Linked DNA regions of Homo sapiens: regions 2, 3, 4, 5, 6 and 7 are each linked to region 1. Evidence: promoter capture Hi-C in human tissues and cell types (Jung and others, 2019). All regions are on one chromosome and are shown on one strand. Each heading gives the region's core, a stretch centred on a gene start or on the middle of the fragment in contact. The rest is flanking DNA. Distances are from core to core; before and after follow the strand shown.

The links. Contacts are between HindIII fragments. The study calls those that stand out against the background at their distance.
Region 2: a fragment that was not itself captured here is called in contact with the fragment with the promoter of ITPKA in region 1 in 1 of the 25 tissues and cell types used here (spleen).
Region 3: a contact is called between a fragment that was not itself captured here and the fragment with the promoter of ITPKA in region 1, in 1 of the 25 tissues and cell types used here (heart right ventricle).
Region 4: a contact is called between a fragment that was not itself captured here and the fragment with the promoter of ITPKA in region 1, in 5 of the 25 tissues and cell types used here (dorsolateral prefrontal cortex, hippocampus, liver and 2 more).
Region 5: a fragment that was not itself captured here is called in contact with the fragment with the promoter of ITPKA in region 1 in 4 of the 25 tissues and cell types used here (adrenal gland, bladder, mesenchymal stem cells and 1 more).
Region 6: a contact is called between a fragment that was not itself captured here and the fragment with the promoter of ITPKA in region 1, in 1 of the 25 tissues and cell types used here (aorta).
Region 7: a fragment that was not itself captured here is called in contact with the fragment with the promoter of ITPKA in region 1 in 4 of the 25 tissues and cell types used here (IMR-90 fibroblasts, bladder, dorsolateral prefrontal cortex and 1 more).

The regions. Positions count from the first base shown.
Region 1 is chr15:41,491,355-41,495,556 of GRCh38, forward strand. ITPKA (inositol-trisphosphate 3-kinase A) reads left to right here and starts at 2,520. Exons shown (of 7, transcript NM_002220.3): 1 at 2,520-3,062. The coding sequence starts at 2,574. RefSeq lists enhancers at 1,422-1,922, 1,923-2,423 and silencers at 2,160-2,779, 2,800-2,979, 3,090-3,139. The HindIII fragment of the contact is 23,030 bases long and covers 1-4,202 here.
Region 2 is chr15:41,236,929-41,241,130 of GRCh38, forward strand. All of the region lies in intron 1 of CHP1 (calcineurin like EF-hand protein 1), which reads left to right. Among named protein-coding and RNA genes, the nearest start is that of CHP1, 7.8 kb to the left of the region's middle. The HindIII fragment of the contact is 5,914 bases long and covers 1-4,202 here.
Region 3 is chr15:41,737,370-41,741,571 of GRCh38, forward strand. It overlaps MGA (MAX dimerization protein MGA), which reads left to right. Exons shown (of 24, transcript NM_001400225.1): 14 at 2,537-2,834. Among named protein-coding and RNA genes, the nearest start is that of MAPKBP1, 35 kb to the right of the region's middle. The HindIII fragment of the contact is 7,051 bases long and covers 1-4,202 here.
Region 4 is chr15:41,703,916-41,708,117 of GRCh38, forward strand. It overlaps MGA (MAX dimerization protein MGA), which reads left to right. Exons shown (of 24, transcript NM_001400225.1): 6 at 3,813-3,944; 7 at 4,189-4,202. Among named protein-coding and RNA genes, the nearest start is that of MIR626, 14 kb to the left of the region's middle. The HindIII fragment of the contact is 8,003 bases long and covers 1-4,202 here.
Region 5 is chr15:41,682,728-41,686,929 of GRCh38, forward strand. All of the region lies in intron 2 of MGA (MAX dimerization protein MGA), which reads left to right. Among named protein-coding and RNA genes, the nearest start is that of MIR626, 6.8 kb to the right of the region's middle. The HindIII fragment of the contact is 8,932 bases long and covers 1-4,202 here.
Region 6 is chr15:41,310,421-41,314,622 of GRCh38, forward strand. It overlaps OIP5 (Opa interacting protein 5), which reads right to left. Exons shown (of 5, transcript NM_007280.2): 4 at 2,853-2,934. It overlaps OIP5-AS1 (OIP5 antisense RNA 1), which reads left to right. Exons shown (of 5, transcript NR_152821.1): 5 at 1,478-2,918. Among named protein-coding and RNA genes, the nearest start is that of OIP5, 20 kb to the right of the region's middle. The HindIII fragment of the contact is 4,895 bases long and covers 1-4,202 here.
Region 7 is chr15:41,665,489-41,669,690 of GRCh38, forward strand. It overlaps MGA (MAX dimerization protein MGA), which reads left to right. Exons shown (of 24, transcript NM_001400225.1): 2 at 3,340-4,202. The coding sequence starts at 3,407. Among named protein-coding and RNA genes, the nearest start is that of MGA, 7.2 kb to the left of the region's middle. The HindIII fragment of the contact is 4,748 bases long and covers 1-4,091 here.

The sequences.
Region 1 (4,202 bases), core at 1,270-3,769:
GTACTTCCGTAATGTGAATGAGGAGGATAGATGGATATAAGGCCCCTTACTGCTCTAAGAATCTATGGGATTGGATTTCAGTTCAGCATCCATTTCCAGGTTTGCGCTCATCTTTCCAATGAGAGACACCTGGGCAGGTAGAGCAAAGAGCAATTCTCTGGCTGCTGGTATAGTAGACCTAAGGCTTGAGCAAGTGCCTGATACAAGAAGAAAAGGAATTGCCCCTTTTTCTTGGCAGCCAGGACAGAGACCCAGTGCCCAACCTGCTTATACCTCCAACCCTGCCCATCCATCGCCTGACAGACAGGAGTGCAGGACAAGTTCTCGCCCCTCATTGCCCTCCCTACCTTTCCAGTTCTGGCAGTTCCTTGCAGGCTCTCCCCACCTTGGGTTTCCTCCCAGCCCCGTCTCTGAGGGCAGCACCTTCCCACATCCTGACGCAGGTCAGTGTAGCTGTGAAGGAGGCAGAGGAGTGAGTGTCTGAGACACGAGTGATCCAGGTCCTTCAAGCTGCAGAGTACATCCCTCACACACATACTCAAGATTCCTCCAGATGGTTGTCCTAGAGAAGGTGGCGATGTGATTTCCCAGGTTCTCCGTGAAGTAGTCAAGTATTCAAACTCCTCTATGCCCTTCTTCCTCTTACCCCTTCATTCCCTCTATTTCTCCTGCCTCTCTCATTGCCATTCTTTCTTACATTATTTTGCTTCCTTCCTCAGTTCTCCAGGATCTTCACCTATTTGTTTATTTTGAGATAGCGTATGACTTGTCACCCAGACTGCAGTGCAGTGGAATGTCATGGCTCTCTGCAGCCTCGACCTCCTGGGCTCAAATAATCCTCTCACCTCAGCCTCCTAAGTAGCTGGGACCACAGGTGCATGCCACCACACTCAGCTTTTTTTTTTTTTTTTTTTTTTTTTTTTGAGACAAGTTATCACTCTGTTGCCCAGGCTAGAGTGTGGAGTGTGGTGGTGGAGTGTGGTGGTGATCTCAGCTCACTGCAGCCTCGACCTCCCAGGCTCAAGTGATCCTTCCACTTCAGCCTCTCCCCGAGTAGCTGAGACTACAAGTGCACACCACCACACCTGCCTAATATTCTGTATTTTTAGTAGAGACAGGGTTTTGCCATGTTGCCCAGGCTGGTCTCGAACTCCTGGGATCAAGCAATCTGCCCGCCTTGCCCTCCCAAAGTGCTGGGGTTACAAGCCTGAGCCACTATGCTTTGCCGAAGATTCCCGTCTTCCCACTGAACCTTCTTCTTTCCTTCTCCTGGGCCATTCCTGAGCCCTGGCTGAGGGGAGAGAAGGGAAGGAAAGCCCCTCCTGCGGCCATCTCAGCATCCAAGGCAATCCTTCTGGGGCTGCTCTGTCTCCAGGGCCCCAGCCATCCCCAGACACTGAGTGCCTGAGGGGGGACCCTCACTCCTGTGGCACTATGGTAAGATAGGAAACAGTGGCTTCTCCTCAAAGCAGCCTCGCCGGTCGGTCAGCTGACTACCAACATGGGAAGTGGCCGAAGATCCACATGGAATGACACTGATAAGCACTTTGCAGTGTCTGAAACTCTTAAACATCAGTGCTGTCTTCCTAGTTTTACAGACACAACTCTGTGGGTTGGATGAGGTTTTTCTAAATGTACAAATGCAGAAATATACGGAGGGAGTAAAGGGACTGCCTACAAATCACATCTAGAGTGTGGTGTACCTGATTTCAAGTCTTTTATTTTATTCTCGCAGCAACGGGAGAATCCGCAGTCGAGGGAGGTGAAATGACTTGCTGAACGCCACACGGCGGACTCCAAGCCCCGAGCTCCTATAACAGAGGAGGAGGAAGGCGGGCTCAGCTCCTGCCACCCAGCAGCGGGGGAGATGCAGCCCGGGACTAGGCTGGGCCATGGGGACAGATCCAGGCCCCGCCCCCTGACCTTGTTCTCTGCCCGCCGGGAAGTGGGGAACTTGCGGGGAGCAGCCTCAGCTAGTCCCTGGGGCAGAGTCTCCACTTGGGTGCACGCCCTGGGGTGGGGCTTCTTCGGGAAGCCGGGGGCCTTCAACTCTGCTCAGGAGCTCGGGCCGGAGAAAGGCCCCGAGACTTGAAGCCCTTGCCCGGGAGGGATGAACACGCAAAGGAACCCGAGGAACGGGGTAGGGGACCAAGAGTAGGACCAGCTTCTCCTGCGCGGGGACAGGGCCTGTGGAGCGGCCTGGAGGAATCTCTCCCAGCCGCGAAGCCCGGGAAGGCTGCGAGGCCCCAGCGCGGAGCGGCCCCTCCCACCTCCCCGAGGGCAGGCGGAGCGAAGCCTCGGGGCCCGGGCCCAGGTTTTGTGCCTACGGAGGCTGGACTTCCCCGCCACCCCGAGGAGTCACCGAGAGCCTTCTCTCCCTCGCAGGGGCCCTGGGAGGCCCGCGCTTTCTCTGAAAGTGGAAGGAGTGGGCGGGGGGCGCGGCCGAGGCGGGGCGCGGGCGTGCAGCGGCGCAGGCTCCGCCCCGGGGCCGTCTCCAGCCGGGGGCGCCGAGCCGCTCCAGTCCCCGGCGCGCCGCGGGCTGGTGGGCTCAGCGGCGGCGCCGGCACTGGGAAATGACCCTGCCCGGGGGCCCAACGGGCATGGCGCGGCCGGGGGGCGCGAGGCCCTGCAGCCCGGGGCTGGAGCGGGCCCCGCGCCGGAGTGTCGGGGAGCTGCGCCTGCTCTTCGAGGCGCGCTGTGCGGCGGTCGCTGCGGCCGCCGCCGCGGGGGAGCCCCGGGCCCGCGGGGCCAAGCGGCGTGGGGGACAGGTCCCCAACGGGCTTCCGCGGGCTCCCCCGGCCCCGGTGATCCCTCAGCTGACCGTGACAGCCGAGGAGCCCGACGTGCCCCCGACCAGCCCTGGGCCGCCGGAGCGGGAGAGGGACTGCCTCCCGGCAGCGGGCTCTTCGCACCTGCAGCAGCCGCGCCGCCTTTCCACCTCGTCGGTCTCCTCCACTGGCTCCTCGTCGCTGCTCGAGGACTCGGAGGACGACCTGCTGAGCGACAGTGAGAGCCGGAGCCGCGGCAACGTGCAGCTGGAAGCGGGCGAGGACGTGGGTCAGGTACGGGCCGCGGGGGCGGGGCCAGCGCCGGGCGCGGGGGCTGCACGGGGGACCTGGCTGGGTGCTCCCGGAGGACCCGCTCCTGTCCATGCTCCCTCCAGCGGAAGGTCCTGTTCTCGCGGTTTAGGAGGAATCTGGGGGTCAGAGGGAGGCGCCTGGCCGACCTCTCGCCTGGGCAACTTTCACCTCGGCTCCGCCGGCGGGTCGTGGCGCTGGCCCTGGGGCGTCTAAGAAGCGGGGCGAGGAGCAGGCGACCCGCCGCGGGGACTGGGCGAAGCGGGGGTAGCGGACCTTGTTGGCTGTGGGTTAGGACAGGAGGGATCGGAGGGGCTGAGCCTTGCCGGGTGAACCCTCGGAAGGAGAGAGGCGAAGGAGAGTTTCCCTTACCCCCCGCCCCCTCTCCGGTGCCGCGGCCGCACCCCCGCCGTTGCCACGGTTTCCCTCTCCTGAGTGGGAGTGGAGCGGCGCTCCAGGCTCTGCTCGGGAGCCGCTGCCGTCTGCTCCCAGCGCCCGCACGAGGCGTGGACGCAGGGGAGGGAGGGGCGTGGGCCTGGGAGCTCTGGCTGGGAGCGGAACGCAGCCCACCCAGTGCGCGCCCTGCCTCCCATCTTCCCGGCTCGCCGCTCCTGAGCGCGGCAGAGAGGGGCGGTAAACTGAGGCTGCAAGGGGGCAGGATCACTCTGCTAGTCTCTGCCTCTGATAGCCTGGGTGTTCTGGGACCAGGTCTGACCCTCGGAAAACACAGCCCTGGGCACTGTTAAGTCATTCCTGACGCCCGCCACTTAGGGATGTGCGGCTCCCGGGACACCCTCCTTGTTCCCCTCGTTTTAACCAAGGCCAAATACCTTGAATAACTGTCCGTGGTCAGCGCGAAGGACTTTCTTTAGATCCACGTTTCGCAAGTGTCCCTGAGGCCGAGGAAGAGGCGAGGGGCGCCCCCGGCCTCGGGCGTCTGGGGCCTGCCCATAAGTCCGGGTCGGCGCGGCGGGGCGGGGAGAGCTGTGGCCGCGCGCCTGCTCCGCCGCACAATCGGCTGGGACAAGGCAGGGAAGCTGTGGCGACCTGCAGGGGTTCACAAGCCCGGAGGCCGATGGGGTTTGTCAGTGACACCAGAGGGGAAAAGCCTCACAGAGCAGGAAC
Region 2 (4,202 bases), core at 510-3,009, 260 kb before region 1:
AAGCCATTCTCTTGCCTCAGCTTCCCAAGTAGCTGGGATTACAGGTGCCTGCCACCAGGCCTGGCTAATTTTTTGTATTTTTAGTAGAGATGGGGTTTCGCCACGTTGGCCAGGCTGGTCTCGAACTCCTGACCTCAGGTGATCCACCCACTTCAGCCTCCCAAAGTGCTGGGATTACAGGCGTGAGCCACCGCACCTGGCCCCTTTTTTTCTTTTTCTTTTTTTTTTTTTAATTGAGATGGAGTTTCACTTTTGTCGCCCAGGCTGGAGTGCAGTGGCGCGATCTCAGCTCACTGCAACCTCCGCCTCCTGGCTTCAAATGATTCTCCTGCCTCAGCCTCCCAAGTAGCTGGGATTACAGGCATGTGCCACCACGCCTGGCTAATTGTTTTTATTTTTAGTAGATACGAGGTTTTACCATGTTGGCCAGGCTGGTCTCGAACTCCTAACCTCAGATGATCTGCCTGCCTCAGCCTCCCAAAGGGCTAGGATTATAGACGTGAGCCACCTTAATATTATCTATCATTCACTTCCTATTCAAATTTCTCCAATTATAAGAAGATAGATTTTGTTTGTTTTATATAATGTTTTAAAATCTCTCTTAATCCCTAAGAGACTAGTCCAGGGCTTGAAGTCTTCATGTCAGGGGGAATGTTAAGGTGTAGTCTATTCCGGGAAGCGCAGGCTTCAACTTTCCTTTATCTAGAGCTACCTTTAGCTGTACTTGTAATCTTTACATAGGTTATCAGTCTGTTCTTCTGCATTAAGATTTGGAATAAAGGCAAGGACAAAATAACTTTTTCTTTTCTTTTTTTTTGAGATGGAGTCTCGTTCTGTCACCAGGCTGGAGTGCAGTGGTGCAATCCCGCCTCCCGGGTTCAAGGGATTCTCCCGCCTCAGCCTCCTGAGTAGCTGGGACTATAGGCACGTGCCACCATGCCCGGCTAATTTTTGTATTTTTAGTAGAGATGGGGTTTCCCCATGTTGGCCAGGATGATCTTGATCTCTTGACCTCGTAATCCACCCACCTCCCAAAAGTGCTAGGATTACAGGCATGAGCCACCATGCCTGGCCCTCCAAAATAACTTTTTCTTACTCCCTTTTTGTTTTTATTCTTTCCTCTGCCACTTCTGCTTCGCACTTCTGTGAAATGCCTTCCTCCTCTTTGCACAATGCAGTGATGATAGAAAGATTTCAGCAACGTTAACAGGGTCTTTTTTTGTTTTTTTGGCGTGTGTTTTTTTTTTGAGACAGGGTCTCACTCTGTCACCCAGGTTGGAGTGGAGGGGTGTGATCATAGCTCACTACAACCTTGAACTCCTGGGCTGAAACAGTCCTTCTGCCTCTGCCTCCTAAATAGCTCAGCGTACAGGAATGCACCACGATGCCCAGCTAATGATTGATTGATTGATTATAGAGATGAAGTCTTGCTTTGTTGCCCAGGCTAGTTTTGAACTGGCCTTTCGTCAAGGGATCCTCCCACTTTAGCCTCCCAAAGTGCTAGGATTACAGGCATGAGCCACTGCCCTCAGCCAAACAGGGTCTTTTAAATAATCTTTTAACAATTTAAAATGATTATATACCCATACCAGTGGAGAAAAAATACAGCTTCATTCAAGACATGTTTATAGCAGGGCACGGTGGCTCATGCCTGTAATCCCAGCACTTTAGGGCGGCTGAGGCGGGTGGATCACGAGGTCGGGAGATCGAGATCATCCTGGCTAACACGGTGAAACCTGGTCTCTACTAAAAATACAAAAAAAAAAAAAAATTAGCCAGGCATGGTGGTGGCAGGTACCTGTAGTCGCAGCTACTCAGGAGGCTGAGGCAGGAGAATGGCCTGAACCTGGGAGGCAGAGTTTGCAGTGAGCCAAGATCGCGCCACTGCACTCCATCCTGGGTGACAAAGCAAGCCTCCATCTCAAAAAAAGAAAAAAGACACGTTTATATGCACGGCCTTCTCTGAGAGTAACTGTCAACTCCTGTTATTTCCTTTGGGTTACCAAGAATTGTGCAGGTTTTGGGCACCTATCTGACTAGCTTAGAGCCTTCTGGGGAAAATACTTCACTGGAAACATGATCTGCCTTCATTCACACCAGTTCCAGTACCTTTCTACACATGGATGGTGTAGCTCCTTTATAGGTAGATTGGGATTGTTCTGAGATTGCTTTATATTCTTTGTCACAGTGAATTTAGTACCTAAATTAAAGCCTTCTCTCCTTCTTTTTGTTAACAAAATTACTTGTAACCATATCGTTATGGTTCTAAAATTTGTTCTAAAATTTTGGAGATAAGTTTAGATATGACCATATTGATTAGTATTAAAAGTTGACATTTGGTTGTATGTTTCTCCACTGACTCCCATATAACCCAGTTCGTCCTGGAAGATAGTTTTTTTTTTTTTAATGTTTTGGCTACTTATTTACATTATTTATTTTTAACATATTAGTACATTATTTTTTGTTATCGTTTGTTTTGTTTTGTTTTGTTTTGAGGCGGAGTCTCACTCTGTCGCCCAGGCTGGAGTGCAGTGGTGAGATTTCAGCTCACTGCAACCTCCATCTCCCAGGATCAAGCGATTCTCCTGCCTCAGCCTCCCAAGTAGCTGGGATTATACCACCACACCTGGCTAATTTTTGTATTTTTAGTAGAGACAGGGTTTTACCATGTTGGCCAGGCTGGTCTTGAACTCTTGGCCACAGGTGATCTGCCCGCCCTCAGCCCCCCAAAGTGCTGGTATTGCAGGCTTGAGCCACCAGGCCTTGCCACATTTTGAATTTAAGCAGCCATAAACTGGTCTTAACATACTATAGGAGGTTTCAGTGCCCAGTTATTTTATTTCTTTTTTATTTATTTATTTTTTCGAGACAGAGTCTCCTCTCTGTCACCCAGGCTGGAGTGCAGTGGCGCAATCTCAGCTCACTGCAAGCTCCGCCTCCCAGGTTCAAACCATTCTCCTGCCTCAGCCTCCCGAGTAGCTGGGACTACAGGTGCCTGCCACCACGCCCGTCTAATTTTTTGTATTTGTAGTAGAGACAGGGTTTCACCGTGTTAGCCAGGATGGTCTCAATCTCCTGACCTCGTGATCCGCCCGCCTCGGCCTCCCAAAGTGCTGGGATTACAGCTGGGATTACAGGTGTGAGCCACCACGCCCAGCCTCAGTGCCCAGTTATTTTAGATGATATAGATTAGAAAGATGTTTAATGGCTCATTTGTGGATTTTTTTGGTTTAAAATAATTTTATTTTTTATTTTTATTTTTATTTTGTTCCCCAGCCTGGTCTTGAACTCCTGGCCTCAAATCATTGTCCTGCTTCTGCCTCTGGAAGTGCTGGGATTATAGGCGCCAGCCATCATGCCTGGCTCTCATTTGTTCATTGAAGGGGTCGGATTAGATAACATTTCTACCAATTTTAAAATTATATAAATTGGATAAAGAAGGACTCCAAAGCAATATAGAAAAAGTATGAATTACTAAATGAAAAGCAAGCTATTACAACTTTGTAAAGTACACGAGTAACTGATATTAGATGATATATGAAGAGCTGGGCGCGGTGGCTCATGCCTGTAATCCCAGCACTTTGGGAGGCCGAGGTGAGTGGATCACCCGAGGTTGGGAGTTTAAGACCAGCCTGACCAACATGGAGAAACCCTGTCTCTACTAAAAATACAAAATTAGCTGGGTGTGGTGGCGCATGCCTATAATTCCAGCTACTTGGGAGGCTGAGGCTGGAGAATCACGGGAACCCAGAAGGCGGAGGTTGTGGTGAGCCAAGATTGTGCCATTGCGCTCCAGCCTGGGCAAGAAGAGCGAAACTCTATCTCAAAAAAAAAAAAAAAAAAAAGATCTATGAAGAAATGAAAATGGCAGTGTTGGGATTGTGAACAAATTTTGTTTTTTTCAAAAAATCTTTTGGGAAACTTAGTAATTCTTTTTTTTTTTGAAACAGAGTCTTGTTCTGTCACCAGTCTGGAGTGCAGTGACGTGATCTCCGCTCACTGCAACCTTCGCCTCCCTGGTTCAAGTGATTCTCCTGCCTCAGCTTCCCAAGTAGCTGGGACTAGAGGCAGACGCCACCACACCCAGCAGATTTTTGTATTTTTAGTAGAGACGAGGTTTCGCCATGTTGGCCAGGATGGTCTCGATCTCTTTTCCTCAGCATCCGCCCGCCTTGGCCTCCCAAAGTGCTGAGATTACAGGC
Region 3 (4,202 bases), core at 1,166-3,665, 250 kb after region 1:
GTCTCGAACTTCTGAGCTCAGGTGATCCACCCACCTTGGCCTCCCAAAGTGCTAGGATTACAGGGGTGAGCCACCATGCATGGCTGAAAATTTTAATTTAGTAAGGTGTTATTTAAATACAAGAGTAAAAATTCAGCCATATTTACTTAATTATATTTTTTCTTTATTTGATTCGTAGGGGTTTTGTTAGTGTAACTGTTGTAGGACAAATACCTTTATCCTTGATACTTAGTAATTCACGCAGGTTGTATTAGTAAAATTATACTGGCATATAGAAAATTTGAAAAGAGACGTTCTGAATTAATGTCATAGTCAGAAAAGGTTTTTCTAGCTGAGCGCAGTGGCTTACGCCTGTAATCCCAGCACTTTGGGAGGCCGAGGTGGTGGATCACCTAAGGCAAGGAGTTTGAGACTAGCCTGGCCGACATGGCAAAACCCCATTTCTACTAAAAATAAAAAAGTTAGCCCGGCGTGGTGGCGCGCGCCTGTAATCCCAGCTTCTTGAGAGGCTGAGGCAGGAGAATCATTTGAACCTGGGAGGTGGAGGTTGCAGTGAGCTGAGATTGTGCCACTGTATTCCAGCTTGGGCAACAGAGGGAGATTGTCTCAAAAAAAAAAAAGTGCACTTTTATATTAGAGTAGCAAATGTGTGGAAGTGTCTGATATTATTGCAAAGTTAGCTTGACTTTCATTAGATTGGCTGCTTCTAAGTCACTAAGGACTTCTCCATTAATAATATGATTGATATAGGCTGGGCATGGTGGCTCACACCTGTAATACCAGCACTTTGGGAGGTGAAGGCGGGTAGATCATGAGGTCAGGAGTTCAAGACCAGCCTGACCAACATGGTGAAACCCCATCTCTACTAAAAATACAAAAATTAGCCGGGCATGGTGGCGTGTGCCTGTAATCCCAGCTAGGAGGCTGAGGCAGGAGAATCGCCTGAACCTGGGAGGCAGAGGTTGCAGTGAGCCGAGATCACGCCACTGCATTCCAGCCTGGGCGACAGAGTGAGACTCCATCTCAAAAGAGAAAATAATATTAATATGATTGATCTACTTAATTAAAAAACTTATTATTGCAGTTTACTGTTGTGCATGCTATGTAAATGCTTCTGTTGATATTTCTTATACTCTTGATGAGGAGAACAGTATTTTCTCTACCTTATATATTGATTGACACTTTGAAAACAGAGGTTTGCCTGATACAATTTCTAGTGAGACTAGACTCCCTAAAATACAAGCATGGAAATTTTTTGTTGTCTTCTGCCCAGGACTCACAAAGCCACCATAGAATGTGTCTGCATAAGCAGTCAGGCAACTGTAAACTTTGTAAACTTTGGGGAAGCTGCAGAGTAGGCTTCAGCGCAGTCCCAAGGGATCCGGGAGGGGGTATCTGACCTATTTCTGTATAGCCTGAAAAGTTACAGTAAAGTCTACTTTCAGGGGGAATGATCACATTCTTTGTACCAAACTCAAGGCAGAGATATTCTTGATCTCTGTGGGAATAATCACAATTTAACCAAAGTAGCAAAGAGTAATTTTGTTTTGTGTCTCTGAAGATGGAGTTGCTTGCTGTAGCTGGTCTCCTCACCAGTTCCCTGTTAGAGAGTAGATTCTACCTCACTCCATCTCCCCCAACCCCCGATTTTGAAATGGTGAAAAGGAAATATAGAAAAGGTTATCTTCTCTAGAGTTGCCTGGCAATATGACCTAGAGAACATGGGTAGAGACTTGGGAAGTTTTTGTTTTCTTTCTTTAAAAAAAAAAGAAAAGAAATCAACCCCCACAAAAAACAACTGTGCTGGTACCCATGATGGGCAGTCTGATAAACTCAGGCAGCAGAGGGGATCTTTACTTCATTTGTTGGTTCACTTTCTTCTGACTATTTAGTTAATTATGTCTAGAATAAGAATGAGTTCGTACCAACATTCAGTTTGAACCCATGTTTTATCCAAGAGATGAAAATAGTATTTTCAAAGCTAAGCTTTTTGAAAATGAAAAACTGTGAGGTAATTGTGGCTTAGGTTATTGCAACAATGATTGTCTTATAACTTAAAGTAGATTTCACTTATATTTTTCAAATATGAAGGATGCTTGAAAGGACCCTTGTGTGAGAGCTTCATTATGTCTCTCTGGTCTTATCAGAGAGATTCTGTGGGACACTCATTTTTGCTGATGAGGTTAATAGCTTAACCAGAATGCCTTATTTACAAGGAAAACAATTGGATAATTCTAGTTGTTTAGATTTGATGATAACTTTCACATAACTAGGATGCAGAAATGATGAGTTTCCGATTCTCTATTTTCAAACTACAATATGAAGGAGATGAGATTAGTTCAGAATATCAGTTGACAGCATTTTTCTACCTTCTGATTACTCAGATTATTCTAAATGGAAAAAGTCTACTTCTTTTTCCCTTTTAAATCTGAAAAATAGACTTATGAAAACTTGTAAAAATGAAGCCCCTGTCAAGGGAGAGGAGTTAGCAAGAGAATTTTATCTTTACAGAATTTCTCTTTGCCACTTGTTTCAGGTTAATGGTAAGAGTTACCCGCAGGCTAAGTTGCTATTGGGACAGATGGGGGCATTGCATCCAGCCAATAGGCTAGCTGCTTATATCACAGGCAGGTTGCGACCCTCAGTCCTGGACCTCTCAACCCTCAGTACTGTCATCTCCAAGGTAGCATCCAATGCCAAGGTGGCTGCATCCAGGAAACCACGTACCCTGTTGCCTTCAACATCCAATTCCAAAATGGCATCCTCCTCTGGCACTGCAACAAATCGCCCTGGGAAGAATCTGAAGGCGTTTGTCCCAGCAAAACGGCCAATTGGTAAGTTGGGGTGTATGTATGGTTTGGAAAGGCCTATGACTTGGTGGTGGGACAGTGGGTACAGGTATGGAGGTTGTAAAAATTAGAGAAATATGTACTTTGGCATTATTCTTATTCTTGTTGTCTGTCTTGCCTGGACTTTTTTGATTGTTTGGGGTTAACGTCTGATAACCTGCAATATTAGATGAATTGAGTTGTTTTATAGTTAATTTCTTGGTTTTATATATATTTTTTATTTTTTAATAACACTGACTTGAAGGCAAGTTTTATAGTTATTTTTAAGGTTTTCAGACTGGTTGTTATTAATGTAGAAAAGACTTAAGGATTTTAATTTTGTTTCTAAAAAGGGAAGACATTTAAAAATAGTTTACTATTATACTAAATTATTTACTAAAATATTTTACTAAATTAAAAATAGTTTACTATTTTCCTGTGAGGACTGGTGTTTCTGGCCTCTTGTTGAACTCTTGCTGGTGCTATGTAAATGCTTCTGTTGATACTTCTTAAACTTATGAAACCAAGGAGCTAGCAAAAGCTAGTGGTGTAAGTAGTATAGGCTTAAAGTGGAAAGCTCCTATAAATACAATTTTGAAAGTGTTGATTTATTCCATTCATCTCTGTTCTATGAATGAAAATCTCTCTTTTCCTTAACATTTAAATGCTGAAGTCTGTAATAAATTACCTTCTTGAAACATTTGTGTTTTAGCATTGAGAGTATCTATAGTTGGTTTATTGAATTCCTCTTTTTGTTGTTTCAAATCTGTTAGGAATGTTAGGTAAGAGTGTCAGTTGAAATCTCTGGCTGAATGGTTAGAGTTGTGTGAAGATAGAAGATATTTATTGTTTGCCTTAAAACCTATTTTGGCCGGGCGCGGTGGCTCACTCCTGTAATTCCAGCACTTTGGGAGGCCGAGGCGGGTGGATCACGAGGTCAAGAGATAGAGACCATCCTGGCCAACATGGTGAAACCCCATCTCTACTAAAAATACAAAAATTAGCCGGGAGTGGTGGCATGCGCCTGTAGTCCCAGCTACTGGGGAGGCTGAGGCAGGAGAATCACTTGAACCCGGGAGGCAGAGGTTGCAGTAATCCGAAATCGTGCCACTGCACTCCAGCCTGGTGACAGAGTGAGACTCCATCTCCAAAAAAAAAAAAAAAAAAAAAAGAATCTATTTTACCTTTTATTAAGGCAGCTTCAGTTGTGATTAAGGGGAGTAAAAAAAGCAATCCTATCCTGATCTGTTTGGAGAAATGTCTTTATATATTTTAGGAATATGTAATACGTAAGCATCTCATAATAGCACAGCTGTAAAGAGGTGAGAGTGCTCAGACAGGAGGAAATGGTAGAAACAAGTTTTTACATTAGAA
Region 4 (4,202 bases), core at 1,009-3,508, 210 kb after region 1:
TCACATGTCAGCCCCCCAAGTAGCTGGGACTACAAGCACATGCCACCACACCTGGCTAATTTTTTTTGGTATTTTTTTGTAGAGATGGGGTTTTGCCATGTTGCCCAGCCTGGTCTCGAACTCTTCAGCTCAAGAGGTCTGCCCGCCTTGGCCTCCTGAAGTGGTGGGATTATAGGCATGAGCCATTATGTCTGGCCGGTTTTAATGTTAATTTCCTTTATGAGTAATGACAATATTTCAAGAACTGTCTTCCTCTTCCTTTTTTAGTAATTTAATAAAAATGCTTTATTTTTCCTTAAAATATTTTTTTTTAGAGATGGGGTCTCCCAGTTTTGCCTAGGCTTGTCTCAAACTCCTGGCTTCAGCCCATCCTCCCAAGTAGCTGGAATTACAAGTGTGAGCCATGGTGCCCTGCAGTAAAAAAAAAAAAATTCTGAATGTTACATTAAATTAGTGATTAGCGGCCAGGCGCGGTGGCTCACGCCTGTAATCCCAGCACTTTGGGAGGCCAAGGCGGGTGGATCACAAGGTCAGGAGATCGAGACCATCCTGGTAACACGGTGAAACCCTGTCTCTACTAAAAATACAAAAAATTAGCCAAGAGTGGTGGTGGGCACCTGTAGTCCCAGCTGCTGGGGAGGCTGAAGCAGGAGAATGGCTTGAACCTGGGAGGCGGAGCTTGCAGTGAGTGGAGATCGTGCCACTGCACTCCAGCCTGGGTGACAGAGCAAGACTCCGTCTCAAAAACAAAACAAAACAAAAAAAATTGGTGATTAGCTGGAGTTTTCCTTATAATATGTGCTTTTCTATTCTGTGTTTACTACTTATATAGGTGTTTATAGAACTATAAACATCTTGAGTGTACTTTTGTATTTCAGTGGTTTTAGCTAGCAGTTGGCATTTTTGGCTATATCTTATTGTAGGTGAATCTGTCTTTGCTTGAATCTAAAGGTTATCTCTTTTCAGCTTTATCTTTATGAGTCTTTTTTTGTAATGACATTATAACACATTTTTAAGAAGTAGCTTCTAATATGGTGAAATGAAGCAAAACGATTTAGAAATATAGTTTAAACTGACATGTAGACAAGATTTTAGGTTCTAAGTAGGCTCTGGTTGAATAAAAATATAAAAAGATAATAGGTTTTTCACAATATGCTTTCTATGAATTATTCAGCCAAATTATTTTCTGCAAGCTAAAGTTTTTATGCCCATTTCATATGAAATCAGCTGAGTCTAGGTCTCAGTTGTCTGTTACTTGGGGAAGGATTTTCTTGCATGACCTCAGGTGATCTGCCCACCTCAACCTCCCAAAGTGCTGGGATTACAGCTGTGAGCCACCATGTCCGGCCTCAGATTTCTTTTTGTTTACCTCTCGTAGGGACTTATTTACCCTATGCTACCTACTGAAAGTCAGTTGGGAAAACATAACACTAAAGCTTCTTGAGGTCTTTTTTTTTTTCAAGACAGGATTTTGCTTTTTTGCCTAGGCTGGATGGAATGCAGTGGCACGATCATGGCTTGCAGTACCCTCAACCTCCTGGGCTCAAGCAGTCCTCCCACCTCAGTCTTCTGAGTAGCTGGGATCACAGGCACGTGCCATTACACCCAGCTAATTTTTAAATTTTTTGTAGAAATGGGGTCTTAACCTGTTGCCCAGACTCATCTTGAACTTTCGGGCTCAACCAGTCCTTCCTCTTTGGCCTCCCAAAGTGCAGGGATTACAGGTGTGAGCTGAAATGCCAGGCCTGCAAAATGTCTTTTATCTCTCTGAGATCACCTGCTTTACAGAGAAAGTGCAGTAGATTCTCAAAGCATACAACTGAATGTGGTGGATTGGTGTTCATTTTACTGTTGAGAAAACTAAAGAGAAGTTTAGCCCAAGTCATACAATTAAAAAGTAGTAAAGGCAAGATTAGAAATCATTGTTTTGACTCATTATCCTATATTTCCCGTAGTTGATTGGGAACATGAGGAAAGGCTGTTTTATTTGATTGATGTTTTAATCATACTGTGTGATTAAATACAATAAATATGTAATACAGGCCAGGTGCGGTGGCTCAGGCCTGTAATCCCAGCACTTTGGGAGGCCGAGGCGGGCGGATTACGAGGTCAGGATTTCGAGAGCAGCCTGACCAATATGGTGAAACCCCGTCTCTACTAAAAATACAAAAATTAGCCGGGCCTGGTGGCACACGCCTGTAATCCCAGCTACTTGGGAGGCTGAGGCAGGAGAATCGTTTGAACCAGGAAGGCGGAGGTTGCAGTGAGCCGAGATTACACCATTGCACTCTAGTCTGGGCAACAGAGTGAGACTCCATCTCAAAAAAAAAAAAAAAATGAATAAATAAATATGTAATACAATAAAGATATGTTAAAGAACTGGAATTGCAAACTAAAACAAAATAGCTGTCTTTTTTTTTTTTTTTAAGAGATGTGGTCTTCCCACCTCAGCTTTCCAAGTAGTTGGGCCTACAGGTGCACGCCACAGTGCCTGGCTTGCCATCTTTTGTTCAGATAGATTTTATGTATAGGATACATGGGGTTCATAACCTACCTAATGTCTTTACCTGTTAGAGAACCAGCACTACGTGAGCTTTTTACTGGAAACTTACGCCTGTGACTTTTAATGGCTTTACTATGATACTTAACACTTAGCTTTTTTTTTTTCCCTTTTTTTTTTTTTGAGATAGAGTCTTACTCTGTCTCCCAGGCTGGAGCGCAGTGGCATCATCTCGGCTCCTTGCAATCTCTGTCTCCCAGGTTCAAGTGATTCTCCTGCCTCAGCCTCCTGAGTAGCTACAGGCACATGCCACCACACCTGGCTAATTTTGTACTTGTAGTAGAGATGAGGTTTCACCATGTTGGCCAGGCTGGTCTCGAACTCCTGACCTCAAGTGATCTGTCTGCCTTGGCCTCTCAAAGTGCTGGGATTGCAAGTGTGAGCCACCAGCTCCGGCCAATAATTAACGCTTCACTTTGAACTTCTTTTGGCTTCAGTTTTATTAAAATTTAAGTTAAATACCTTCCCAAAATATTGCCTCTTAACCTATAAATAAGGAAGTCATAATATTTTTAGGCTTGATTAACCATAAATGTCATTAATAAGGACTAGAGAACCAGTAGCCATAATCAGGCCAGCAGCTTAGTCTATGGTGAGTTTGTAATAGAGGCCTTAGACAGTCTCTGGACCACAAAGAGTTAAAGCACAAGAGATCTGAATTTTGCTCTTTTTTAATTAGTTACCTTGCTTAATAAATTATCACAAACTTAGCAACTTAAAACGATATATTTACTGTATCACAGTTTCTATGTGTCAGCAGTCTGGGCATAGCTTAGTTGGGTCCTCTGCTTAGGGTCTCACAAGGCTACAGTCAAAATATTGGCCAGGCCTGGTTTCTCAGAGACTTGGTTGGAGAGGGATCTGCTTCCAGTTTCCCTCAGCTCATTGGCAAAATTTATTTCATTGCAGCTCCAGCAAGATGGATAACTTGTGTTATCACATGCACATTATCATGCACGTCCCATCTCCCTTACCACATTTTATTGATAAGAAACAAATTACAGGCCCTGCCTACCATAGTCGGGGTGAGGGGAGTTATACAAATGTGTAATACCAGATGTCATGGATCATGGGGCCACCTTAAATTGAATCTGCTACAGTTTGTTTTTTTCATTGTTTTTGCTCTTCACTATCTCCTTTCTCTCTCGACCTTACCCCCCCGCCATCTCCCAGGCACAAGTTAAAAACAAAGAAGGGAGATAATATGATTTCTGATTAATCTATGGAAATATGATTTCCTTTTTTCTTTTAGTGGGCTTAAAATTGAATTCAGTGGATCCAACAATGAGCATTGATCTTAAATACTTGGGAGTACAGTTACCTTTGGCTCCAGCTACTAGCTTTCCTTTTTGGAACCTTACAGGAACCAACCCTGCCTCTCCTGGTGAGTATGTAACATTTGTAAAGTCAAACACTATTTTTCTTGAAGTTTACGTTATTTGTAACGTAAGTAAAAAGCTACCTTTATTGGTGACATTTAACATTAGTCTAAGATAGATCTTTTGTCTGTTGTTATAGTTTTGATAAGTGATTTATACACTTACCAAATTAAAGTTTTATTAATTAACTAGGTCCATAATATTGGCCTGCTAGAATTTTGGTCATCTGTTTGACTTTTTCTTTTATAGATGCGGGATTTCCC
Region 5 (4,202 bases), core at 1,277-3,776, 190 kb after region 1:
GCCTCAGCCTCCCAAAGTGCTGGGATTACAAGTGTGAGCCACTGCACCCGGCCTCATGTACGTTCTTTTGTGTCCTGTATCTTAAGCTGTCTTTACTGGTTTGTGTTGTTTTTGTTGTTTTGTGAAGTTCATTTTTCAGTAGTTTCTTTAGAAAGTATCTGTAGAACATAGAATTTTAAGATGTTTAAGTAAAATTACTTACGATGAAAAGAGTTCCCAGCCTCATCTCTCTTCACCCCTCAATTTCTTCTTACGTGTTGGGAATTGGCTTTATTCTGCTTCTCAAACTTTATAAAATTGTTTCTGTAACGAGTTCTTTGAAAATGTGTTGTTGCCTCCCGGTTTCCTGTTGAGAAGTTTGATGGCATGTTTTGCTCTGGTGATTTGAATGTAACCTTGCCCCCTTCTGCTTTCAGAACCTTTTATTGATCCCTCATATTATGAAATTTCAGTTATAAACCTTGGTGTGGTGGTTCTCATCTTTGTACTGTGCTTTATTTTTTTAAATTGAGACAGGGTTTTGCTTTGTTACCCAGGCTGGAGTGCTGGGACACAATCCATGGCTCACTGCAAGCTTGGTCTCTTGGTCTCCTCAAGTGATCCTCTCACCTCAGCCTCCTGAGTAGTTGGGACTGACTACAGGTGTGCACCACCACACCTGGCTAATTTTTTATTTTTATTTTTTGTAGATACAAGGTCTCACTGTGTTTCCCAGGTTGGTCCCTGCCTCCTGGGCTCAAGTAGTCCTCGTGCCTCAGCCTGCCAAGAGCTCTTTTATTTTCTTCTGTACTCTACATTTCTCTTTTCCAGTGGATTTCTTAGTTCTTTGTTCTATTAATGAATCCCCAATTTTTTTTTTTTTTTTTTTGGAGATAGGGTCTCACTTTGTCACCCAGGCTGGAGTGCAGTGGCGCGATCTTGGCTCACTGCAGCCTTGACCTCCTGGGGTCAAGTGATCATCCCACATCAGCCCCATAGGTAGGTAGTTGGGACTACAGGCATGAACACTTGGCTAATTATTTTTTGTAATTTTTGTAGAGATGGGGTTTCGCCATGTTGCCCAGGCTGGTCTTGAACTCCTGAGCTCAAGCAATCTGCCCGTCTTGACCTCACAAACTGCTGGGATTACAGGCGTGACCCACCGTGCATGGCCTAAGCACCAGTTTTGTTTTTTTTCCCTTTCCTTTTTTTAAAAAAAATTATTTTTATTTTATTTTAAGTTCCTGGATACATGTGCAGGATGTGCAGGTTAGTTACATACGGCATGCTAAGCACCAGTTTTACGGAAGGCGTTATAATATGGGTTCTTCCTGTGTGCACCCTTATTGCCTATATGTATGTTTATTATAGCATCTGTTAAATTGCATCATATTGTCTACTTGTCTGTCTCCTGCACTGGCCTGTAAATTCCTTGAATGTAGAGACAGTGCTTTATTTACTTTGTTAATCTCTGTGCCTAACAAAATGTCTGGCATTACTGGGCACTCAGCAAATGTTAAGTGAATGAGTTTTATCATGAGTATTTAAAACTTTCTTAATGTGTCTTAGAGTGGCTGGTGTTCGTCACACATTAATATGTAGTGTTATTTGTTGCATTGATTACATAATGCCAACAAAAAAAATCCTTTTAATTAACTGTTGTTTGTAATTCATTGATTTTGCCTAGGTATTCTTTTGCCTAATTTATTTGGATAGAAGAGACTTCTCAGAAGAATGAAACTTAACTGTTTGTGAAATTTTTTCCCCAAGGCAAGATTTCATTCATCATGTATAAAGTTTTTGTTGGAAAATAGAAGAAATCCTTTCTGAGAGTGTTTATAACTTACCAAGTTCAATTTCTCAGGAAGATGTGAAAGCAGTTATTGCAGTAGCAGCCCAGATCTAGCCTCAGAGGTTTCCCAGCTACTGCGAACAAATGCATGTTGTGTGCTAAATGAAAAGAAGATAAAAAATTTTTTTCTACATTATGAGAGTTATGTCTTGAAATGTGAAGATATCGAGAGAAAAATAGCAAGTTATTTAAGCATTAATCTTAAATTACTTGATATAGAATGTCATTTATATGTGATATACATAAGAACTGAGATAACTGGGAAAGGGAAAAGAGTGGGCTTGATTATGGAAATTGATTGGCTTGTGGCTTTTCTGTAGTTTTTGCTTGCTTAATCTTTAAAAACAGATAAAGGGAAACTGGATTTTGGTAATGGCTAATAACTATACATTTATTAAAAATTATTGAGTTAACACTTAAAATGTGGGTGGCTTTTATATTATGTAACTTATACAGTAAAGTTTTAAAAAAATTGATAAAGAGAGAGCTGTTTTCACCAGTTAAGTGAAATGTTTGAAAGGGGGAAGTTGTTTTGGTTTTCACATTTAATTCTGTGATCTGTCTTGAATTATTAATAATTTTTGTACATGCTGTGAAGGGTCAGGGTTCGTATTTTTCCATGCAGATGGCTAGGTGCTCTAGCATCACTTATTGAAAATAATTTTCTCCATTAAGTTGCATTGTTGCTTAGGAAAATCAGCTGACTATATGCGCACAGGTAGGTTTATTTTATACTAAATTCTGTTTCATTGATTTATTTGTCTATGTTTTCTATTATTTTGGGCAATACCGTGCTGTCTTAATGGTAGTAGATTTATAATAAGTCTTAGAATCTGGTAAGGTAAGCCTTTGAACCCCCCATTATTTTGGTTGTCCTGGGTTCTTTGTATTTCCACATAAATTTTGAGTCAGCTTTTCAGTTTCTGTGAAAAAACCCGCTGGAATTGCCTTGAATAATAGATCCAGTTGAAAAGACTTGATATCTTGACATCATTGAATATTCTGTTAAACAAGGTATATATCTCTGTTTATTTAGATCTTGTTTAGTTTATCTCAACCATAATTCATTCTTTTCAGTCTTTAATTAAACTTATTCCTAGGTGCTTTAAAAAATGATCCTTGTAATTGGCATTTAAAATAATTTTCCAGTTTTGGCTGGACGTGGTGGCTCATGCTTGTAATTCCAGCACTTTGGGAGGCCGAGGCGGGAGGATCAGGAGGATCATGAGGTCAGGAGATGGAGACCATCCTGGCTAACACGGTGAAACCCCGTCTCTACTAAAAATACAAAAAGAAATTAGCTGGGTGTGGTTGCGGGCACCTGTAGTCCCAGCTACTCAGGAGGCTGAGGCAGGAGAATGGCGTGTACCCGGGAGGCGGAGCTTGCAGGGAGCCGAGATCGTGCCACTGCACTCCAGCCTGGGTGACAGAGTGAGACTCTGTCTCAAAAAAAAAAAAAAATAATAATAATAATTTCCCAATTTTTTGATAGTATATAGAAATCCAGCTGAGTTTTACTAATTTATAGAGTCCTTTAGAAATTTTCTACATGTACAGTGTTACCTGTGAACAAATTTAGTTTTACATCTTCTTTCCAATCTTTATGCCTGTTCTCTCTCTTGCTTTATTGCATTGCTTGGACTCCCAGTACTGTGTTGAAAATAAATTTTGAGGCAGGGTGTGGTGGCTCACGCCTTTAATTCCAGCACTTTGGGAGGCCGAGGTAGGAGGATCACTTGAGCCCAGGAGCTTGAAAGCAGCCCTGGAAACATAGTGACACCCACCCAGCTCACCCCCATCTCTATAAAAACTTAAAAAAATAATTAGCTGGGCATGGTGGCACACACCTGTAGGCCCAGCTACTTGAGAGGCTGAGGTGGGAGGATTGCTTGAGTTGAGCCTGGGAGGTTGAGGTTGCAGTGAGCCATGGTTGTACCACTGCATGGGCAACAGAGTGAGATGCTGTCTTAAAAAAAAAATTTTTTTTTTGAGTGGTCATTCATGTCTCCTGATCTTAGAGAAACTCATTCTGTATTTTTTATAGCATGTTGGGTGTAGTTTTTGTGTAGTGCTCTTTATCATGTTGAAATACTTTCCTACTGTTACCCATTTTCCTGAATATTGTTAAGAATGAGTGTTGAATTTCATCAAATGATTTTTCTAAATCCATTGAAATACCATATGTTTTTTCTCCTTTATTTTGTTAATATGGTGAATTAACATTGATTTAGAGGGGAGGGGTGATCTTACATTCTTGGGCTAAACATTACCTGGCCATGATGATATCATCCTTTTTAATATTACTGGTTTCAATTTGCTAATATTTTATTGAGGATTTTTGCACCAAATTCATGTGGGATATTTGTTTATA
Region 6 (4,202 bases), core at 738-3,237, 180 kb before region 1:
TCAAGACCATCCTGGCTAACACGGTGAAACCCCATCTCTACTAAAAATACAAAAACAAAATTAGCTGGGCACGGTGGCGGGCGCCTGTAGTCCCAGCTACTCAGGAGGCTGAGGCAAGAGAATGAGTGAACCCAGGAGGCAGAGCTTGCAGTGAGCCAAGATCGTGCCACTGCATTCCAGCCTGGGTGACAGAGCGAGACTCCGTCTCAAAAAAAAAAAAAAAAAAGATCCTCAGATGTAAAGTTTCGTGTGAAAAAAGACAAAACATTGCTGAGCAGCACTGCTACTGTGAAGATGAATAAAGTCTGGTCACAGTGCTTTGTGGAGACAGGCTTCTCCTCCTTTTCCAGTGGCAAGAATTTAGCTTTTCTTTTAACACTTTGTTAACAGTAACAAATGCCTCTCTGACTTTAACATTCTACTAATGGTCTGCAAAGTTAACTCTGGTTATTAGGTTTAGAACAGATAACTGTTGCAATTAGGTAATTTTTAAGAGTTCTTACAGCTATATTTAGCATGAAATTTAGTGTTGTTACTCAGCAGGGCAAGAGCAGTGGCTTCTGATAATCTCCATTCGCCCCTCCCAGCATAGGATTTCCACCCTACAAGCAAGCTGGGGGCAAGGGCAACTGGGTTCCCAGCTACTGGGGAGGCTGAAGCAGAAGCACTTGAACCTGGCACTCACACCTGTAATCCCAGCAGTTTGGTAGGCCGAGGCGGGTGGGTCACCTGAGCTCGGAAGTTCGAGAACAGCCTGGCCATCATTTTTAGCAGAGATGGTAAAACCCCGTCTCTACTAAAAATACAAAAATTATCTGGGCACGGTAGTGCGCGCCTGTAGTCCCAGGTACTCAGGAGGCTTTTTAGTATTTTTAGTAGAGACAAGGATTCTCCATGTGGGAGAATCGCTTGAACCCGGGAGGAGGGGGTTGCAGTGACCCAAGACTGTGCCACTGCATTCCAGCCTGGGAGGCAGAGTGAGACTTTGTCTCAAAAATAAATAAACAAATAAATGTTTCTGTATTTGCCATATACCTTGAAGAAAATTTCCACAGACTTAAGATGGTTGTTTCCTTTATAATATTCTTCCTGGATCCTATCCATGGAACTCCTCATACTGCCATTCCAAAGTCATTTCCCATACCAATTATTATTATTATTATTTTTGAAATAGATTCTCACTGTCACCCAGGCTAGAATGCAATGGCGTGATCTTGGCTCACTGCAACCTCTGCCATCCAGGTCCAAGCGATTCTCCTGCTTCAGCCTCCTGAGTAGCTGGGGCTGGGATTATAGGCGCCTGCCACTGCGCCTGGCTAATTTTTCTAGTTTTAGTAGAGACGGGGTTTCACCATCTTGGCCAGGCTGAACTCCTGACCTCATGATCCACCCACCTCGGCTTCTCAAAGTGCTGGGATTACAGGTGTGAGCCACCGCACCCAGCCAATAAGAATTCTTTTTTTTTTTTTCCACACAGAGTTTCGCTCTCAATGGCAAGCTCTCGGCTCACTGCAACCTCTGCCTCCCAGGTTCAAGCGATTCTCCTGCCTCAGCCTCCCGAAAAGCTGGGATTATAGGCATGCGCCAACACGCCCGGCTAATTTTGTATTTTTAGTAGAGATGGGATTTCTCCATGTTGGTCAGGCTGGTCTCAAACTCCCGACCTGAGGTGATCTGCCTGCCTCAGCCTCCCAAAGTGCTGGGATTACAGGCATAAGCCACCATGCCCAGCCTTCTTTTTTTCTTTTTTTTTTTTTTGAGACAGATTTTCACTCTTGTTGCTCAGGCTAGAGTGCAATGGCATGATCTTGCCTCACAACAACCTCTATCTCGCAGGTTCAAGTGCTTCTCCTGTCTCAACCTCCCAAGTAGCTGGGATTACAGGCATGTGCCACCACGCCCGGCTAATTTTGTATTTTTAGTAGAGACAGGGTTTCTCCATGTTGGTCAGGCTGGTCTCGAACTACTGATCTCGGGTTATCCATCCGCCTCAGCCTCCCAAAGTGCTGGGATTACAGGCGTGAGCCACCACGCCCAGGCAAGAATTATTTTTTTTTGAGACGCAGTCTCGCTCTGTTGCCCAGGCTGGAGTGCAGTGGCGCAGTCTCGGCTCACTGCAACCTCCACCACCTGGGTTCAAGCGATTCTCCTGCCTCAGTCTCCTAAGTAGCTGGGATTACAGGCGCCCACCACCATGACCGGCTAAATTTTTTTTTTTTTTTTTTTTGAGACAGAGTCTTGCTCTGTTGCCCAGGCTGGAATGCAGTGGCGCAATCTCAGCTCACTGCAACCTCCACCTCCCAGTTCAAGCAATTCTCCTGCCTCTGCCTCCCGAGTAGCTGGGACTACAGGCACGTGCCACCACGCCCGGCTAATTTTTTGTATTTGTAATAGAGATGGGGTTTCACTGTGTTAGCCAGGATGGTCTCCATCTCCTGACCTCATGTTCTGCTCGCCTTGGCCTACCAAAGTGCTGGGATTACAGGCGTGAGCCACCACGCCCGGCCAGGAATTCTTAATAACTGTTTCATCACTCTTATGTCTGAGACAGTTGAGCAATTACAAGGTATTTGCAAAGAAGACACCTCTATGGCAAGATGATGATATCCATTCCCAGCACAAAGGAGAATGCAGGAGTGCAGCAGTTGAGCAGCTTTTCCTTTCTTCCTGAACTATACCTTACAGTGTGGTTTTAGTATTTTGTTTTTCATTACAAATTCAATAGGGAAGGTCAAATCAAGTAAAAAGGATTATTGAGCATCATGCCATTTCATCATCCCCAAGTTCATTGGTAGAAGTTATCAAGAGTTGTCTGTATTTTAAAAAAGCATACAACCATCATGAAATTTTACCTCTGCAATCTTTTCTGATAGAGGAACATTTTGAATATCCATCTCTGATGCATTTACTATGGCTTTTGTTTTTAAGAGATAGCTAGATAGGAAAAAAGAAAAATATTAGTGTCATACCATGGTTAAGATTATAAAAGAACCAAACTTACCTTCTAAAGAAAGTATGTGTCAAAAAAAGCCTGGCTTCTTAATGATTTTCATTTCAAGACTCATGATGTTACAGTTGGCCCACCATATCCATGGGTATAGCATCCATGGATTCAAACAACCACAGACTAAAAATATTCAGGAAAAAAAAACTGGATTGTGTCTGTACTGAACAGGTACACTCTTTTTCTTGTCATCATTCCCTTAACATTACAACAACTTTGTAAATTTCCTATGTAAATTTGTAATGTACATAGCATTTACATTACGTTAGCTGTCATAAGTAATCTGGAGATTATTTTAAAGTATAAAATATATACTTTTATACTTTAAAAAGGAGGATATCCAAAAGTAATATGCAAATATTACACCACTTAATATCAGAAACTTGAGTGTCCATGGATTTTGGTATCTGGTGAGGTCCTGGAACCACAGATACTGAAGGATGACTGCATTTTCTTGGAAAAACAAATTCAAAAATAAACAAATTGGAGAGGATCTCTGCCGCATCCCACCAGAGACAAAATTATCTCAGGGTAAATTAAAGACAAAAACCAGGCTCATATGAATAATTACGATGATTATAAGCTTTACACTTCATCAGTAGGATCCTGTAGCACAGTTTGAAAGAAAGTAATCCCAGTATGAGACATAGTGTTGGTCACCTATTCCCAGTAGCTGTTCCTCACTTTTTTTTTTTGAGATGGAGTCTCGCTCTGTTGCCCAGACTAGAGTGCAGTGGTACAATCTCAGCTCACTGCAACCTCTGCCTCCTGGGTTCAAGCGATTCTCCTGCCGCAGCCTCCCGAGTAGCTGGGATTACAGGCTTGCGCCACCACGCCCAGCTAATTTTTGTATTTTTAGTAGAGATGGGGTTTCACCATGTTGGCGAGGCTGGTCTCGAACTCCTGACCTCAGGTGATCCCCCTGCCTGGGCCTCCCAAAGTGCTGGGATTATAGGCGTGAGCCGAGCCCAGCCTTCCTCACTTCTTTATTGCCAACAGAATCCAGATTTTTGCCATGAGCCTACTGTTACATATTTGCTTTCTCAGATGAGGTGATCATGTGACATAGTTCTGGCCAACAAGGGTAAGAAAATGGGATGGGTGTGCTGGCTCACACCTATAATCCCAGCACTTTGGGAGGCTGAGGCAGGCAGATGGCTTGACATCAGAAATTTGAGACCAGCCTGGGCAACATAGC
Region 7 (4,202 bases), core at 468-2,967, 170 kb after region 1:
GCTCGAGGGATCCTCTCACCTCAGCCACTCAAGTAGCTGGGACTACAGCTACACACCATTGTAGAGATGGAGTCTCACTGTGTTTTCCAGGTTGGTCTCAAACTCCTGGGCTTAAGCGATCCTCCTGCCTCAGCCTCCCAACGTGCTGGCATTATAGGCATGAGCCACCATGGCCGGCCTCATTTCTTTATTATAACTTTTTATTGAGATATAATTCACATAACATATAATTCATCATTTTAAAGTATACACCAAAAAGAAATCCCACACCCATTAGCAGTTAGTCCCAGTTACCCCTTCCCCTGAAACCACTAATCTACTTTGTTTCTCTAGATTTGCCTGTGTTGGACATCTCATATAAATGGAATCATACAATATATGTGACCTTTTTCTTTATAACCTTTAATAATTAACTAATTTTAACTTTATTTTTTATTTTTTTAAAGAGACGGGGTCTCACTCTGTCTCCTAGGCTGGAGTGCAGTGATATGGTTATGGCTCACTGCAACCTGAACTTCCAGGGCTGCTGAAGGTGTCCTCCTGCCTCAGCCTCCTGGCCACCATACCTGCTATTTTTTTTTTTTTTTTGGTAGAGACTGACTGGCTATTTTGACCAGGCTGGTCTTGAACTCTTGACCTCAAACGTTACTCCCACATGGGCCTCCTAAAGTGATGGAATTACCGGTGTGAGCCACTGCACCTGCCCACCTGGCCTGTGTTTTAGTTTTTAAAGGTTGTGTGTTCACAAGACACAAAATTTACAAAGTGTAAAAGGGTATCTTTTCCAAGTCATCAAGTTTTCCTTGGATATGACCAATACTACTGTTTTCTTTTCTGTCTTTCCAGAGATAGTCTGTGTAAAGCAAATATGTACATGTTCTTTTTCATTCTTTGGCTTTTTATTTATTTTAAAGACCGAAATACTGTCTATTTCTTTGATTTTAAAAAGGAAAAATCTTTTACAAGGGTTGAAAAACTACCTATCAGGTACTATGTTCACTGCTTGGATGATGGGATCATTAGAAGCCCAAACCTTATATTATGCAGTAGACTCATGTAAACAAACCTGCACGTGTTCTCCCTGTCTGAAGTTTAAGAGGTACAATAAAAAACTTTTAAAAGATGTGTGGCATAATTTACAACTCTTCTGAACATTTTACGCTTAATATATCTTGTAGATACTTTTTGCATGCATTCATTAAGCTTATACATTCTCTTTTGTGACTGTTAACATTCCACTCTATGGATGTGTCATCATTTGTTTTACCATTTTAAGGACTTCTCTCTTCCTGTCTAGTCTTTTGCTGTTATAAGTGGGAATGCAGGGGATAATCTTGTATAGATATCATTTATCACAGGTGTGTGTATTTAAAATAAAGTCCTATAGTGGGTTTTAACAGTGAATTAAGAAAACTTAAAGTCCTGGGAACAATTCTTTGTCATAGGATGATATATGGATTTGTACTTTTGATATTTTCAAGTTGCCCTCTCTTAGAGATTCTATTATTTTATACTCCCAGTAACTGCTTAGGGGAGAATGCTGGTTGACCTAACCCTTTCCAGCACTACCAGGCTTTGATTTTTGCCAGTCTGATAAGTAAAAAAACAGTATCTCAAGATGACTTTAATTTGCTTTCCTCTTAACTATGTACATATTCATAGCCATTTGCGTTTATTATCCTTTACTCATTTTTCTGTTAGGTATTTGGTCTTGTTGATTTGTAGGAAGCCTTTAAAAATTATTATTACTGTTAATGTATTTTTATTTTTTTTTTTGAGTCAGAGTCTCGCTCTGTCACCCAGGCTGAAGTGCAGTGGTGCCATCTTGGCTCGCTGCAACTCCACCTCCTGGGTTCAAGCAATTCTCTTGTCTTAGCCTCCCGAGTACCTGGGATTATGGGCGCACACCACCATGCCTAGCTAATTTTTTTATTTTTAGTAGAGACAGGGTTTCACCATGTTGGCCAGGCTGGTCTTGAGCTCCTGACCTCAAGTGATCTGACCTCCTTGGCCTCCCAGAGTGCTTGGATTACAGGCGTGAGCCACTGCTCCCCCGCCGCTATTATTTTTTAATAGAGACGGACTTTCACTACGTTGGACAGGCTGGTCTGGGACTCCTGACTTCAAGCAATCCTCCTGCCTTGGCCTCCCAAAGTGCTGGGATTATAGGTGTGAGTCACCATGTCCAGCCCCCTTTTTATATTAGGGAAAGGAGTTCTTTATAAGTTGCAAATACCTTTTCCTGGTTAGTTTGCTTTTTGATTTTGCTTAAATGATTTTGCCAGATTAAAAAATTTACAGAATATTAAATTTTATTTTATTTTTATTTCTTTGAGACGGAGTCTTTCCCTGTCACCCAGGCTGGAGTGCAGTGGCGTGATCTTGGCTCAGTGCACCTTCTGCCTCCTAGGATCAAGTGATTCTCATGCCTCAGCCTCCTGAGTAGCTGGGACTACAGGCGTGCACCACCACACCAGGCTAATTTTTTAATTTTTAATAGAGATGGGGTTTCGCCATGTTGGCCAGGCTAGTCTCGAATTCCTGGCTTTAAATGATCCACTGGCCTCAGCCTCTCAAAGTGCTGGGATTGCAGGTGTGAGCCACCACACCTGGCATCATATAGTATTAAATTTATCACTTTTTTTTTTTTTGGCCTTACTGGTTTTAGATTTTGTGTCTTATCAAAAAACTTTTCTCAGGATTTAGGAATAAAAAAATTAAATATTAGAGTCATCTGGAATTTATTTCAGTGTAAGGTCCATTGAGTTCCAGTGATTTGTCATGGCTTCTTTAAACGTGTGTACTAAGAAGTTAGATAGCTTTTTACTTATTTATGGAACCATGTCTTCTGAACCATATGAAGAACTAATTCTGTACAATTAGCTCTTTGGGATGAAAATGGAACTTTACTTATTTAATTTACTCATCACTGGGGAACTTGCTATATAAAGGAATCTTCTGGTAAATTCATAAAGTGTTAGGATGCTTTAAAAATGCATAACCTTCAAATTTAACTTTTTAATTTTGTATACTTTTTTAATAATGAATATACTCTTTTGTTTCTTTGTGTGAGATTATAGTATTTATAGTGAATTGTTAGAGGATTAGGATATAAGCACCTTAACTAATTAGATTAAAATGAACTTTAAAAAATGATTAGATATTCCAGAGTAAATATTCTTACTGTGATTGAAAGAAAAGCTTAGAAGCAAAGTCTTAGAAGAATTTAGGAATATTTTGGGGATAACATAATCGTTCTTGTATTTTTGTTCAAGAAATAAATACTCACTTGATTAAAGGGTGTTTTTTGTTTTTGGTTTTTTTTTGCTTGTTTCTTAGGATGGGAAGGCCATTGTGACTATGTGGTGATTACAGTTGTCTTACTACTGAGTTTCCTACTGAAATCATGGAGGAGAAACAGCAGATTATATTGGCTAATCAAGATGGTGGAACAGTGGCAGGAGCAGCACCTACCTTCTTTGTCATCTTAAAGCAGCCAGGAAATGGCAAAACTGATCAAGGAATTTTGGTTACTAATCAGGATGCCTGTGCTTTGGCTAGTAGTGTGTCATCACCAGTAAAATCTAAAGGGAAGATTTGCCTTCCAGCTGATTGTACTGTGGGTGGAATCACTGTTACCCTCGATAACAATAGTATGTGGAATGAGTTCTATCATCGAAGCACAGAGATGATTCTGACCAAGCAAGGAAGACGCATGTTTCCTTACTGTCGTTATTGGATAACAGGTTTAGATTCAAATTTGAAGTATATTCTTGTCATGGATATATCTCCTGTGGATAACCATCGTTATAAGTGGAATGGTCGTTGGTGGGAACCTAGTGGGAAGGCTGAACCTCATGTTTTGGGGAGGGTTTTCATTCATCCAGAATCTCCTTCCACAGGTCATTATTGGATGCATCAACCAGTATCTTTCTATAAACTCAAACTTACCAACAATACACTGGACCAAGAAGGGCATATCATCTTGCACTCTATGCATCGTTACCTGCCGAGGCTTCATTTGGTGCCTGCAGAAAAGGCTGTGGAGGTGATACAATTAAATGGCCCTGGTGTCCACACTTTTACCTTCCCACAGACTGAATTCTTTGCAGTAACAGCTTATCAGAACATTCAGATTACTCAGCTGAAAATAGATTACAATCCATTTGCCAAAGGCTTTCGGGATGATGGGCTGAATAATA